Linked DNA regions of Homo sapiens: region 1 is linked to region 2. Evidence: promoter capture Hi-C in 16 types of primary human blood cells and fetal thymus (Javierre and others, 2016). All regions are on one chromosome and are shown on one strand. The core of a region is centred on a gene start or on the middle of the fragment in contact, and the rest is flanking DNA. Distances in the headings are between cores, read along the strand shown.

Region 1 (5,700 bases), core at 2,031-4,530, 3.6 Mb before region 2:
ATAACTCAAATCCCTCTATTAGTTTATTTACGGCACTAAGGCCTTGGAGAGGATTAGAACAAAGTTAGAATGAAATCCGAAACTCCTCTACATTGGCAGGACAAGGAGTGTGGGAGAGGAAGGGAAGACACAGAGTTCTTAGAAGAGAACTTGTTTGGAAAACAAGGAGGAAGGGAAAGGTGTTCCAGACAGAGGAAACCGAGTAGACAAAGGCGTGGAGGTATCAAAAGCAGATGTCAGGCCGGGTGAGGTGGTTCACACCTGTAATCCCAGCACTTTGGGAGGCTGAGGTGGACAGCTCACCTGAGGTCGGGAGTTCAAGACCAGCCTGGCCAACAATGGCAAAACCTCATCTCTACTAAAAATACAAAAATTAGCCAGGCGTGGTGGTACACACCTGTAATCCCAACTACTTGGGAGGCTGAGGCAGGAGAATCACTTGAACCCGGGAGACGGAGGCTGCAGTGAGCCAAGATTGTGCCATTGCACTCCAGCCTGGGCAATAAGAGTGAAACTCCATCTCAGAAAAAAAAAAAAAACAAAAACAAACAGATGTCAGGGCTGGGCGTGGTGGCTCACACTCGCAATCCCAGCGCTTTGGGAGGCTGAGGTGGATGGAAGGCTTAAGCTCAGGAGTTCAAGACCAGCCTGGGCAACATGGCAAAACCCCATCTCTACAAAAAATACAAAAATTAGCTGAGCCTGGTGGTGCACACCTGTAGTCCTAGTTACTTAGGGGGCTGAGGTGGGAGGATCACTTGATCCCAGGAGGTTGAGGCTGTAGTGAGCCATGATTGCACCACTACACTCCAACCTTGGTGACAAAGTGAGACCCTGTCTCAAAAAAAAAAAAAAAAGACAGAGGCAGATGTCCTAGAATAGCGTGGCTGAGGTCAAGGCCGAATGGAGAAGAGAGGTCCTTTGTAGGGGAATGGAGAGCAGGCTCTAAATGTTAAGGGCTTTGAATGCCAGGATAAGTAAGGTTAGACTTTACCCTGATGGTACACAGGAAGTCCTTGGCAGTTTTATGTAAGACAGCAACCCAACCCCATTTGTATTTTACAGACCTGATGATCCCAAAGGATTTGGATTCTAGAAAAAAGACAATCACCAGGCACGGTGGCTCATGCCTGTAATCCTAGCACTTTGGGAGGCTGAGGTGGGTGGATCACTTGAAGTCAGGAGTTTGAGACCAGCCTGGCCAACATGATGAAACCCCGTCTGTAGTAAAAATACAAAAATTAGCCAGGCATAGTGGCACACGCCTGTAATCCCAGCTACTCAGGAGGCTGAGCCAGGAGAATCACTTGAACCCCGCAGGCAGAGGTTGCGGTGAGGCAAGATCGTGCCATTGCACTCCAGGCTGGGCAGCAGAGCAAGACTCTGTCAAAAAAAGAAGGAAGGTAGGAAGGCAGGAAGGAAGGAAAGAAGAAAGGAAGGAAGGAAGGGCGGGGAGAGAAAAAGAAAGAAAGGAGAAGAGAAGAGAAGAAAAGAAAAGAGAAAAAAGACAATCTAGACAGAGGCAGGAGGCCGACAAGTTAAGAACTGAAACAATATTCTCAATGGTAGAGGTTGCCAACCTATGGTCTGGGGGCCAGATTTGTCTGCAAAGTGTGTTTCATTTGGCCCATTCAATATTTCCGAATTTTGGGAATTCGTTTCAAACATTTAAAAGTTGGAAGATTTCTGGATGTCCTGCTTCTCTTTGAATATCATCCAGCCACGCACAGCCCACGATGTCTCCAGTTCCCCTCTTCTCCACCCTCTCTATCACTTTACATGCGACCCCAGTCGCTCATGTCTGCGCCTGTAGGTACTTGCGTTTGCAATCCCTGGCTCCTAAAGCTCTGGAAACAGTCGGGAGTGGCTGGGAGGATTACGCTGGGTTGAGAAAACAGCCTGATCAAAAACTTAGAAGAAATAGGGGCAGTCATAAAAAATGATGAGTTCATGTCCTTTGTAGGGACATGGATGAAGCTGGAAACCATCATTCTCAGCAAACTATCGCAAGGACAAAAAACCAAACACCGCATGTTCTCACTCATAGGTGGGAATTGAACAAAGAGAACACATGGACACAGGAAGGGGAACATCACACACCAGGGACTGTTGTGGGGTGGGGGGAAGGGGGAGGGATAGCATTAGGAGATATACCTAATGCTAAATGACGAGTTAATGGGTGCAGCACACCAACATGGCACACGTATACATACGTAACAAACCTGCATGTTGTGCATATGTACCCTAAAACTTAAAGTATAATAATAATTAAAAAAAAGAATGAAAAAGAAATGCTTTTGAAGCTTGAAGCTAAAAAAACAAAAAAAAAAGAAAGAAATAGGGAAGGCGTCCTATTGGGGCTTTCTCACTAGGGAAAGAGTGAGCTGCAGGGAGGAGAAAGAACAGGGCCTGGAAGGACGAGCTGTCCCTATCTCATCTCTGTCCCCATCCACCCACTTCATCCAGGCCACCAATTTCCGGTTATCAAACAGACAATGCAACATCCCTTACACCTGCTGTACCTCTGCCTAGAATCTCCTTTCTTCCCTTCTATCCGGCGAGCAGTTCCTCCCAGCTGCACTCCTGGACTAGTCACTGCCTATTTGCAGCAGGGATCGCAAAGGCGACCTCAGTTGGATAGGGCAACCACCCAGGCCCAAGTTTATGACCTCTTCCCCAAGAAGACTGTGAGTTCTCTGACGTCTCGCTGGAAATAGGATGCATGGATGGATGGATGGATGGATGGACGGACGGATGGATGGATGGATGGAAGCGCAGGCAGGCAGGCGGACGCATGGATGAATGAAATGCATATCCGAATGCAGAACCTGGATTTGTTTTCCCTCCTTCAAACACACACAGGCTCCGCCCCACTAGCACAGACCGGGACAGTCTGGGGCAGTCTCGTCCCGCAGGGCCCAGAAAGCTGGACCAGGTGACCCTCTCAGACTCCCCCGAGTCCTCTGTAACCTCGTTCTCGCCCCCTCGTGGGCTCTGACCTAGAAAAGGAGTGGGGTGGGTGGGGGGTGGGGGGTGGGAGCCAGCTCGGGAGCCACCGGCGCTAGGACCCAGCGCGGCCGGAAGGGGGTGGGGGCGCCGCGCGGGGAGAATCTGCGCTCCGCGGCGCGCGGCGGGAGGGCGGGCGCGCGGCGGGTGAGCGCGCTTGCGCGAGGGCGCGCGCCGAGCGGGACGGACAAAGGGGCGGGCGGCGGCGCGCGAGCCGGAGGGCGGAGCCGCGGGCCGGGCGGGCAGGTGCGCGCTGGCTGGAGGGCGGAGCCGCGATGCCGCGATGGAGCGCAGCCCGGGCGGGCGCCGGGGCCGGGGCCCGAGCGCCAGGCGGAGCGCGAGCTGGAGCCGCAGCCGGAGCCCGGGCCAGGCCGGGGGCCGGGAGCGCAGGGCCGGGCTGCTCGTAGCGGCGGCGACCGAGCCCCCCAGCGGCTGAGGGGCTTCCAGCGCCCGCCGGTGGCCGGGACCCACTAAAGCCCCCGCAGCCGAGGAGTGCGGGGAGCCCCCTTCCACATCCAGGATCCGGCGAGCCTCGGGGAAGAGGGGGGGCCCTCCCGGATCCGACACCGAGCGACTCCCCTGCGGGGAAAGCGGAGACTTCCTCGGTATTTAGAAGACAGCAAGCCCCCTACGGCACCGCAAGGACTCCCCCTCCTCAGTCTGGGCCCCCGCCCCAAGACCTAGAACGCAGTGCCCCCAGGCCGGGATTGCGAGAACCCCCTCCCAAGATCCGGTCATTACAACTCCACACCTCAAGACAAGAAGACCCAGCTCAGAACGCCCCTAGATCAGGGGATCCCAATTCCCCCCAACTCCGGTACATAGAAATCCCAAATCTAGGCAGCCGGGGACAGCAAGAGACACTCTCACCAGCAAGAAGCCTCGGGGATCCCCCCCCTAAAGCTCCAGGACTTGGGCGACTGAGCCCCTGGCGGCACCGCTTGCACCCCGGTCCATGGTCGTGGCGCCCTGAGCCCCCGGGGCCGGGCAGACGAAGACCGCGACGGCGCCCAGGCCCCCTGCCGCGGCGTCCCCGCGGCCCCAGCCCAGGTAAGCCGGGCCCAGGTGAGGGGCGGCAGGTGAGTGGCCACCGAGGTCCCCATAGCCCTGCAGGTGGGGAAGGAAGTATCGGGTTGCGCGCTCCCCCTTCCCCAGCGTCGCCATGGAGCCGAGGCTGAAGGACGTCTCTTTGTGTCTCGCTTGGAGGAGCCGCCCCCTCCTCCTCTCCCTTCCCCCACCCCACTCCCTAGCCTTGAGGCTCGGGCGCAGCTCCCCGGCCCCACGGAGGAGTGGTGGTGGAGCCCGTTGTGCCATGGAGAGGGGGGAAGAGGGCGGAGAGTCCCCCCCCAAAAGCTGCGAGCCTGGAGGTTGGCCCCCAGGTCCTTGGAGTGTGAATACCCCTCCCCCACGGCCAAGCTGAGCTTCTAGTGAAGTCCCCCCGAGAGGGGAAAATTTGGGGGTGCCCACAGGTGAGGGGGGCTGCCTTATGTGGCCCTGGGTGATGGCTGGGGCTTCGGGTGTGTGTCTTTGTCTGTGAGAGTGCGGGGAAGGGGTGTGTTTGAGCGGATGAATGGGAATCGCATCTTCCCTGTGACTCTGCTGCCCGACCCAGGCCACACTGGCGGTCTTTACCTAAACCATACTTTGTACTCCCTGTGGGACAGGGAGGGAGTAAGTACCCCCCAAAGTGAGGCGCTAGTTTCTGGGGAGGAGAGGTAGCCTAGATGAAGAAGCTATTTCAGGTCAGGGCACCGTTCTGTTCCCATTTGTCCCAGGGACAGCAACCCAAGTCTTTCCCTTCCCCTCCTAACCTGGAGAACACCCAGGTTAAACCAAGGGTTGGCTCAATGTGTCCCAGACAACCAAGGGCCAATTCCAGGGTCTCACTGTGGCTTTCCAGGTGGTACACACGGCCGTACCCCAGCCTGGCCCTCAGTGAGGTCCTGAACCCCAGGCTCTACCGCATATGAGGAAGCCGAGAGACCCTAGGGGACATTGTACCCTGAAATCCTGAATCAGATCCTGAGAAGGGGCTGGACTGCATGGAAAGAACACACTCTGGGCTGCTGGGAGTTCCTCTCATCTCTTCTCTCTGAGCCTTCTGCAGACAAGCAGTGATGCTGGACCCATTTGATAGGTGCACAAACTGAGGCTCGGGAAGGCAGGACCCAGGATACAGCTAGCCCTGCCAGTAGCTCCTTCACTTATTCATTCAACAAACCTGTCGCCAATGTCTGTGATGGACCATGCGCTAGAGTCAGGGTCCTTTTCCCCACTTCATTCCTATCTCCTTTCTTGATGTCTCCTGATCATCAGACCCCTGGGCACGTCCCATTGGGCCTGTTGAAGTGGACCGGGCCAGGTCCAGCTGAGAGATTCTTGACCCTACACCTGAAGCAGCTGATCCCTGTCCTGCTACAGCCTTGGGAGCCCTGAGCCTGGGTGGCTGACTCCTCATCTCCCACCTTCCCAGCACCAAGTGCCCCCACCCCCACCTGCTGCTGGCACTGACCCAAGGGTGAGGATGTGACCAGCTGGAGACGAGGGTAGGGGGCACTTGATGCGGGCAGACCTCTGGCAGCCTCTCCTGCCAATTTCAGGACAGTTGAGGCAGCCACCTTCAGCACAGGCTGTGGGGGAATCAGGTGCCCTGAAGACTGAGTGACCTTGGGCAAGCACGTGGCCCTTCCCAGA
Region 2 (6,427 bases), core at 3,832-6,331:
AGAAAAGACCGTCAGCCTGCTCTGGTTCTAGTGATATTATCTTTGATCTTCTGCCGCCACCTGGTGGCCAACTTCAGAGTGAGGAAGAAAGCAGAGGGGTGAGAAATGAAGTGACCACTTTGCCTCTGGAGCCCAAATGAGGACTTAGCTCCCGGATGTGGGTGGGAATGTATTCTTTCACAGAATTCTCCCAAATTAGGGCCTAGCCCCCAACAAAACCTTTGGCATCCTCCACGAAGTCCCCCACTCACGGCAATTGGTCTGCTGTGTGGCTGCTCTCAAAGGAGCTGAGACTGAAACCTGAGGTTGAAGAGCCACCTACTAGGTGGGAGGATTCTGGATTCCACAGGACTAAGCATTTCCTTTAGTTCAAGCAGGCAACGTTTCTCGTACTCAGTGGCAAACACACCACAGTACACACACATGCACATACGCATGCACCACAAGCACCATTTTAATCTATTTGCATGTATTTCATCCCAGGAGTGATTAGTCCTGTCCCCGATTCAATCTGGGTAATTTTTTTTTCTTCTCATGGTAATGCATGGAAATAGAGTTTCTCAGGTGTCTTTAGTGAGAGTACACACCCTGTTATTTTTTTTCTTATTTTTTTGGAATGCTGTTGCCAATTGGATTGATGTGCTGGTAGCAGGTTTCATCCAATCATTGCATGAAAGCACAGATACACCACCCACAGATGAATTAGGACTTTGTTATAGAATATATTTTTTCTTTTTAAAATAAAGCCTGTAGTCAAGTTTCTTTCTTCTTCCTTTTTTCTTCATTGTGAGGAAAGAATGTACTATGTTTCCATGAAGCGGAACTTCCATTTTGCTTCCCATAGTCTATTTGTCATCTTCCTCTCTCTCCTGTCACACCCCCTCCAGCTTGTCATGTGGCACAGTCCTTTTCTGAGCTCATGCACTTCTCAGCTTACCCTGACAATGGCAGTCATGAACACGTGAGTCAACCACTTCTAGCCTGTTGTTTTTTCCTTCAAAGCATAAGGAGGATGTCTCATTTCCTTCCTCTCAGGTTTTGTCAGCAGATAGAGCTTTACTGTAGTTTGCAGTTGCATGAGATGTGTTGCCCTCTATCCAGGGTGCAATGTGGCTTGGTATCACCCATGGACTGACCCCTTCTTGGGTTAATTTACCTATATAACTTTTCTGGAAGGGTGTGACCCTGGCAGCCTACGGAGACCCTGGGAATATCTTCCAGAGGGCCCTGGACCAGGGATGTCTGCCTGGGTGTGAGACAGACAACCTCTCACCCTCCATGTACCTCCTGGGTCAGGGCATGGAAATCTCACAGGCACCCTGCTCCAGGCAGAAGAGGAGGGGGCAGCCTTAGAGGGTGTGGGCAGTTCCCTGGCTCCTGGGGGGACTTCAAACTTATTGCAGACGGAAACCCCTTCTTCCTCATTTTCAGTCCAACCAACACACTTGGTGGCTAGAGAAACTTTACTTCCTGTTTTTATTTATATATTAAATGTTTTCTTTTCATTTTACACAAGATGTGTATTTAAACAACCAGATCCTGGATTTGAAGAAGAACATATCTGGAATCCGTTCTGTTCTTTTAATTGTCACTTAGTCCTGTGTGAGGACAGATTTGTTCTATGTGTAACCGCTACATTTAAAAAGTTATAAAATTGTTCTTAGCGTTACAATGATATATTTTTAAAAATAAAATTTTCTAATTGAACAATGTATGCAAAGGTTATTCCCCCTTTTTTTTTCCTGCCCCCAACAAACCTAAAGGATCACTATATTTTTTATACTGTTGTTGTTAAAGTCCTGGAATATAGAGATAAACAGTGAGTGAGCAGTCCCTGGTGGAGAAAGAGAGTCTTTTTCACAGAAACAGTGTTTTCCCTCAGCTGTCTTCATTGGAAATCACTCAACACCAATGACTCAATGGCCATTGGAAATCAATGATCGTTGTTCATTCAGTACAAACAAACAAGCAAACAAAAATTATCAATATGTTTGTACAGCTACGCCCGATAATTTATGTACAATAAAGGAATGAGGAACAGGAAAGTGAAGAAGAGAGAAAGGGATGCTGGACCAGTAGATGTGATGGAAACATATTGCAATTTTCTACGTGAGAATGTCTGCTTGGTCTGTAGAAACAGAGTTCTGGAGTAAAGCAGTGAGTATGTTCTCAGTAGACCCTCCTGTCTGCTTCTGGAACACATCAACTGAATCTTTGTCCTCCATTTCCAGTTCTGCAGATGTGTCTGTTTCACTGATTGGCCCCAGTCAAAATGGAATCTGATCTGTGTCATGTAGAAACTCTGCCTTTCACCAAAGGCTTTCACTCATTCACTAAGTGGTGTGCACCTCTTCAACATCAACTGCATCCTGGGACCATCCTACCTGCCACCTTCAAATTCTGCCATAGCGGAGCCTGAAGGCTCTTCAGCTGCAGCTTCACCAAAGAAGTCCAGAGTGTGCACCAAACTAGTGAGCCAGCAGCTCCCGATGCCGCAGGTGAAGGAGGCAGCAGAGCCTTACTCGCTGTTTTTATCACCATCCCTCCAGCAACAGCAGCAGCAGCAGCATCCACAACTACTATTTCTAATTGTGGTAATAATGATGATCACACTTAGAATAATGATAAATAACAGTAGTTGTAATTGCTGACATGTTTAGTTTATATATAGATTTATTATTTGTAATGTTCTATAATTTACTTTTAGTAATATACACATTAATTGTGTCATAAATATCAGGACCTCAAAACACCCCACCTAATGAGTGATTCTCACATATGGACCCATGGCTGCCCACCTGCTAGCGTGGGTCCTCTCACCACTCCACCCCCAGAGCTTCGATCTGTCTGGTCAACATTCTGGGACAATGAAGTAGTTAAGTCATATGGTCTGACTGTGGTCTTGGCAAATAGCTTGACTTGTTAGAAATCAAAGGCTGACTTTAAGACGTACTCAGCTGTTTGGCTAAATTGTGGCAGAAAAAAATGTCTTCTCAGCAGATATACCTTTGTATCTCTTGCTTTCAGAGTAAAAGATTGTTTCAGTCACAGTAGTTTGAGTTAATCTGTATTGAAAATCATCAACAGCTTACAAATACTGAAAGGGGACAAAAATAATTTGCAGACACATTGAGTCCATTATAAGTGCTTTCAAATCTCTCCTATAAGAAATGAAAAATAGAATGTTAGGCCTTGATTTCTTAAACTCAGCCTTCAGCCATTTTCCCAAATTATTCTACATGTTTCCAAGACATTTCAGAAGCATTCTCTGGTGGGGATTATTTCCAATTGTGAAGAGTACTAGAAGGATGAGAATCAAAAGGAATCTTTCTTCTATCGCAAAAGAGTCAATCTCCAGGATTTCAAAGGCCTAGGGAAGCTGCTTGAGTTGTGAGGTCCATGGAGGTGCATGGGCTTTGGAGTCAGGCAGAGTTGATCCTGAGTTCCAGCCCAGCCCCTTAGTAGGCCCTAAGGACTCCCGTGGTGCTGTCACAAGCAGTGCTGCCTTTGGGAGCCCCTAACCTCCTGTCTTTTCTCCCTTCAGTGTGGGAAAGGGGTTTGGTCAGCCAGTGGTGTCAGCAGCCCTGTCCCACACCCGTTGTCTACACCTAATCTGGTGGCAGGGAGGCCACAGAGTGCAGCGACTAGAACTGGGTGAGAGGGTGAGAGGCAGCCATGCCCCAGGCCAAGACAAGTGCATGGAATCCTGACTGTCAGCAATCAGGGATGTTTCTGCTTTGGGGAGGGAAGCATTTGTTCCACACGTCTCACTGAATAAGGCACAGAGCCTGATCTGTCCCAAGTGGGAGTTTAACCAAGCTAGATGGCGGCCGAGGGCCCTGGCCCAGTTTGACACCCACCTCCTCTCCCACCTTCTACTCAGCCAGAAGACTAGGAGAATCTACTCAGCCGGAAGACTACGAGGTGCTGCAGCGCCACTAGCTCCAAGACTCCAGAAAAACAGGAATAGGGCATTCTGGCAGGTCAAAGCAGACAGAATACTTGAGCTCAGGAGTTGGCGAACTGACTATTAACCTGTAGCCCCAGTTACTTGGGAGGCTAAGGTGGGAGGATCGCTTGAGCTCAGGAGATGGAGACCAGCCTGGGCAACATGGTGAAACCTCATCTCTACAAAAAATACAAAAATCAGCCGGGCATGGTGGCATGTGCCTGTAGTCCCAGCTACTCAGGAGGCTGAGGTGGGAAGATTGCTTGAGCCCCGGAGGCTGCAGTGAGCCATGACTGCACCACTGCACCAGCCTGGGCAATAGAGTGAGACCCTGTCTCAAAACAAAAGCAAAAACCAGAGGTAGGGCTGAGGAGTCCGTGGCCACAGAGCCTGAGCCAGCACGGCCCAGAGGAACTGAGCTCCCAGCCCTGTCGCTGCCAAGGACCCTTCTTCCCTGAGCTTGAAGGGATTGAGAAGGAGAGACAGACGGACAGTCAGCGGCCCCGTTACCAGTGATGCAGACTCCAGGAGATGCGGGCAGAGTTGTAGATTAGAAGAATAGGCCAGCCCCTCTTCCACGTTCCACCACGGCCCGCAACATCCTCCTGGGACCCCAGCCTGCATGCCCCTATAAGATGCTTTTGCACTGGTTCAGTCTATGTATCATGCGAGGGCCTAATTGAAAACACGTGAATGAAGTGTACGGCCTTCTGTTCCCAGCTGAGGGGCCCCCTCCCACGGTGGCGTTAGCAGTGGGGTACAGTGCGGTAAGAGAGGTGCTAAGGGACGGGATGAGGGTCTTTCTTGCTTTAAAGGTGTCTAAATATACTTCTTCTTAAACTTAATTAGCTAATAAGATGTCTTATACAAGCAGAACCAGGTAAGGGAAAGAGCAAGTGTATTTCAAGTCGCAGCTCACCCCTTAATTAGCTGTAATACCCGCAGCAGGCGGCCCCACCTCAATGAGCCAGTCTCCCTTTCAAAAAAAAAAAAAAAAAAGGCACTAATAATGAGGGGGCGGGGCATGGAGCTTTATCCAATCAGGGGCGCTGGAGTGGAAACCGTCCAATCAGGAGTGAAGCCGGAGAGCAGGGGCGGCTTCCGGGATTTGGCGGGGGCCTTCGTCGGCTCCAGTTAGAGCTCGGGTCTCCTCGCCACAGCTCCGAGTCTTTCGTTCTGGGAGGCCCAGGCGGCTTCGCGTTCTGAGAATAAACAGAACCTCTGTTGCTCTGCGACTTGCAGGCACTGGGAGATTCGTAGCTAAGACGCCAGGGCATCCCGGAAGCTGGGAAATGGTGAGTGTGCGGGGTCGGGGGTCCCCAGAGGGAGGGAGGGCGGTGGTCGGAAGCGGCGGGAACCCGCTGTAGGGGCACCCGGGCCTCCCCGCAGTCAGCCTCGGGGTCTGGGCCCCGAGTCCCAACTGGTGCAGCTCGGCCCTCGGTCCCCTCCGCTGCAAGATGGCGGCCAGGCCGGCAGCCGGGACCCCGCGTGTCCTGTCCCATCCCGACCCCGCAGAGCGACCTCGTCCCTGGCCGGAGCCCTCTCTGGGCAGCTCCGCGTCGCAGCCCCGCGTCTCCCCCAGATTGTGCGGTGAGGACGGGAGCGTCTCAGGGGAGACCCAGGTTCGGTGTGTGGGAAGAAACCGTGCCCTGTGGGGTCCTCAGTCACTACTCCTCTTAAGAATTAAAGGGAGTCACTGTTAAAACGTTGAAGAATTTGAGCAAATAGCGATTTGTGACATGGGAAGCCTGCAGTCCTGGTTTGTGGTTCGGAGATCCCCAGAGGGGCTTGAAGGAAAGGTTTTTATAAGGTGCATGAGGAAGCAGACCAAATTAACCGATGGGTTACAGTTTGTAGTTGCCTTATTTAGACTATGCAGGTGGAGGTGAATTGGAGCTTTGTGGTTCGTTAAGTCTGAATTTTGTTTTCCCCTAAAGTTGTAATTTACAAGAAAAGCATTTGAGTTTGGTTTTGGTTTTTCTCCCTAGAAACCTGGGGCACTATAACCACTTCCGTATAATCGCCTGCTCATTAATCATCTTAACACTGCCCAGGGGAACTGGTTTTCCCCCTGCGCTTTCCTAACGTGTAGCACGCAGAGTCTCAAGTCCACCACTGTGTTCCCCCAGTCTAACTGGGCTTGCAATAAAATATTAAATTTCCAGTTCCTTCCCGACATTTCCAAAGGCCAACTTCCCCTCTCCAGTTCACATTCTTAACTATTGGTCATTTATTGTACATTTCAGACAGTATTTTACTCATTAATCATGATTTCACAGAGCAGTGGATGACACTTTTTTAAAGATTTGTGTTTTTTTGGCATACATTTCACGTGAGAGGAAAGCAGAGAATAAAAAATCCCTGACACTCCACTGCAAAAAAAACTGTGCCTCTTTTTCATTCATCTTCCCCAGGCACAGACACGTTATCGGAAAGAATGTCTTTTGACTTGAGGTTTTGCTTTGGAAACTTTACAGG

What was found. Contacts are between HindIII fragments. The CHiCAGO score rates a contact against its expected background, and 5 or more counts as called.
Region 1: a contact is called between the fragment with the promoter of SBK1 here and the fragment with the promoter of ZNF267 in region 2, in 1 of 17 cell types (fetal thymus). The highest score is 5.8, in fetal thymus.

The regions. Positions count from the first base shown.
Region 1 is chr16:28,289,245-28,294,944 of GRCh38, forward strand. It overlaps SBK1 (SH3 domain binding kinase 1), which reads left to right and starts at 3,281. Exons shown (of 4, transcript NM_001024401.3): 1 at 3,281-4,056. LOC124903670 (a long non-coding RNA gene) reads right to left here and starts at 2,821. Exons shown (of 2, transcript XR_007065033.1): 1 at 2,523-2,821. RefSeq lists silencers at 2,773-2,944, 3,152-3,381. The HindIII fragment of the contact is 5,383 bases long and covers 2,302-5,700 here.
Region 2 is chr16:31,868,726-31,875,152 of GRCh38, forward strand. It overlaps ZNF267 (zinc finger protein 267), which reads left to right and starts at 5,082. Exons shown (of 4, transcript NM_003414.6): 1 at 5,082-5,244. The coding sequence starts at 5,242. RefSeq lists an enhancer at 4,903-5,197 and silencers at 5,084-5,133, 5,284-5,363. The HindIII fragment of the contact is 12,710 bases long and covers 1-6,427 here.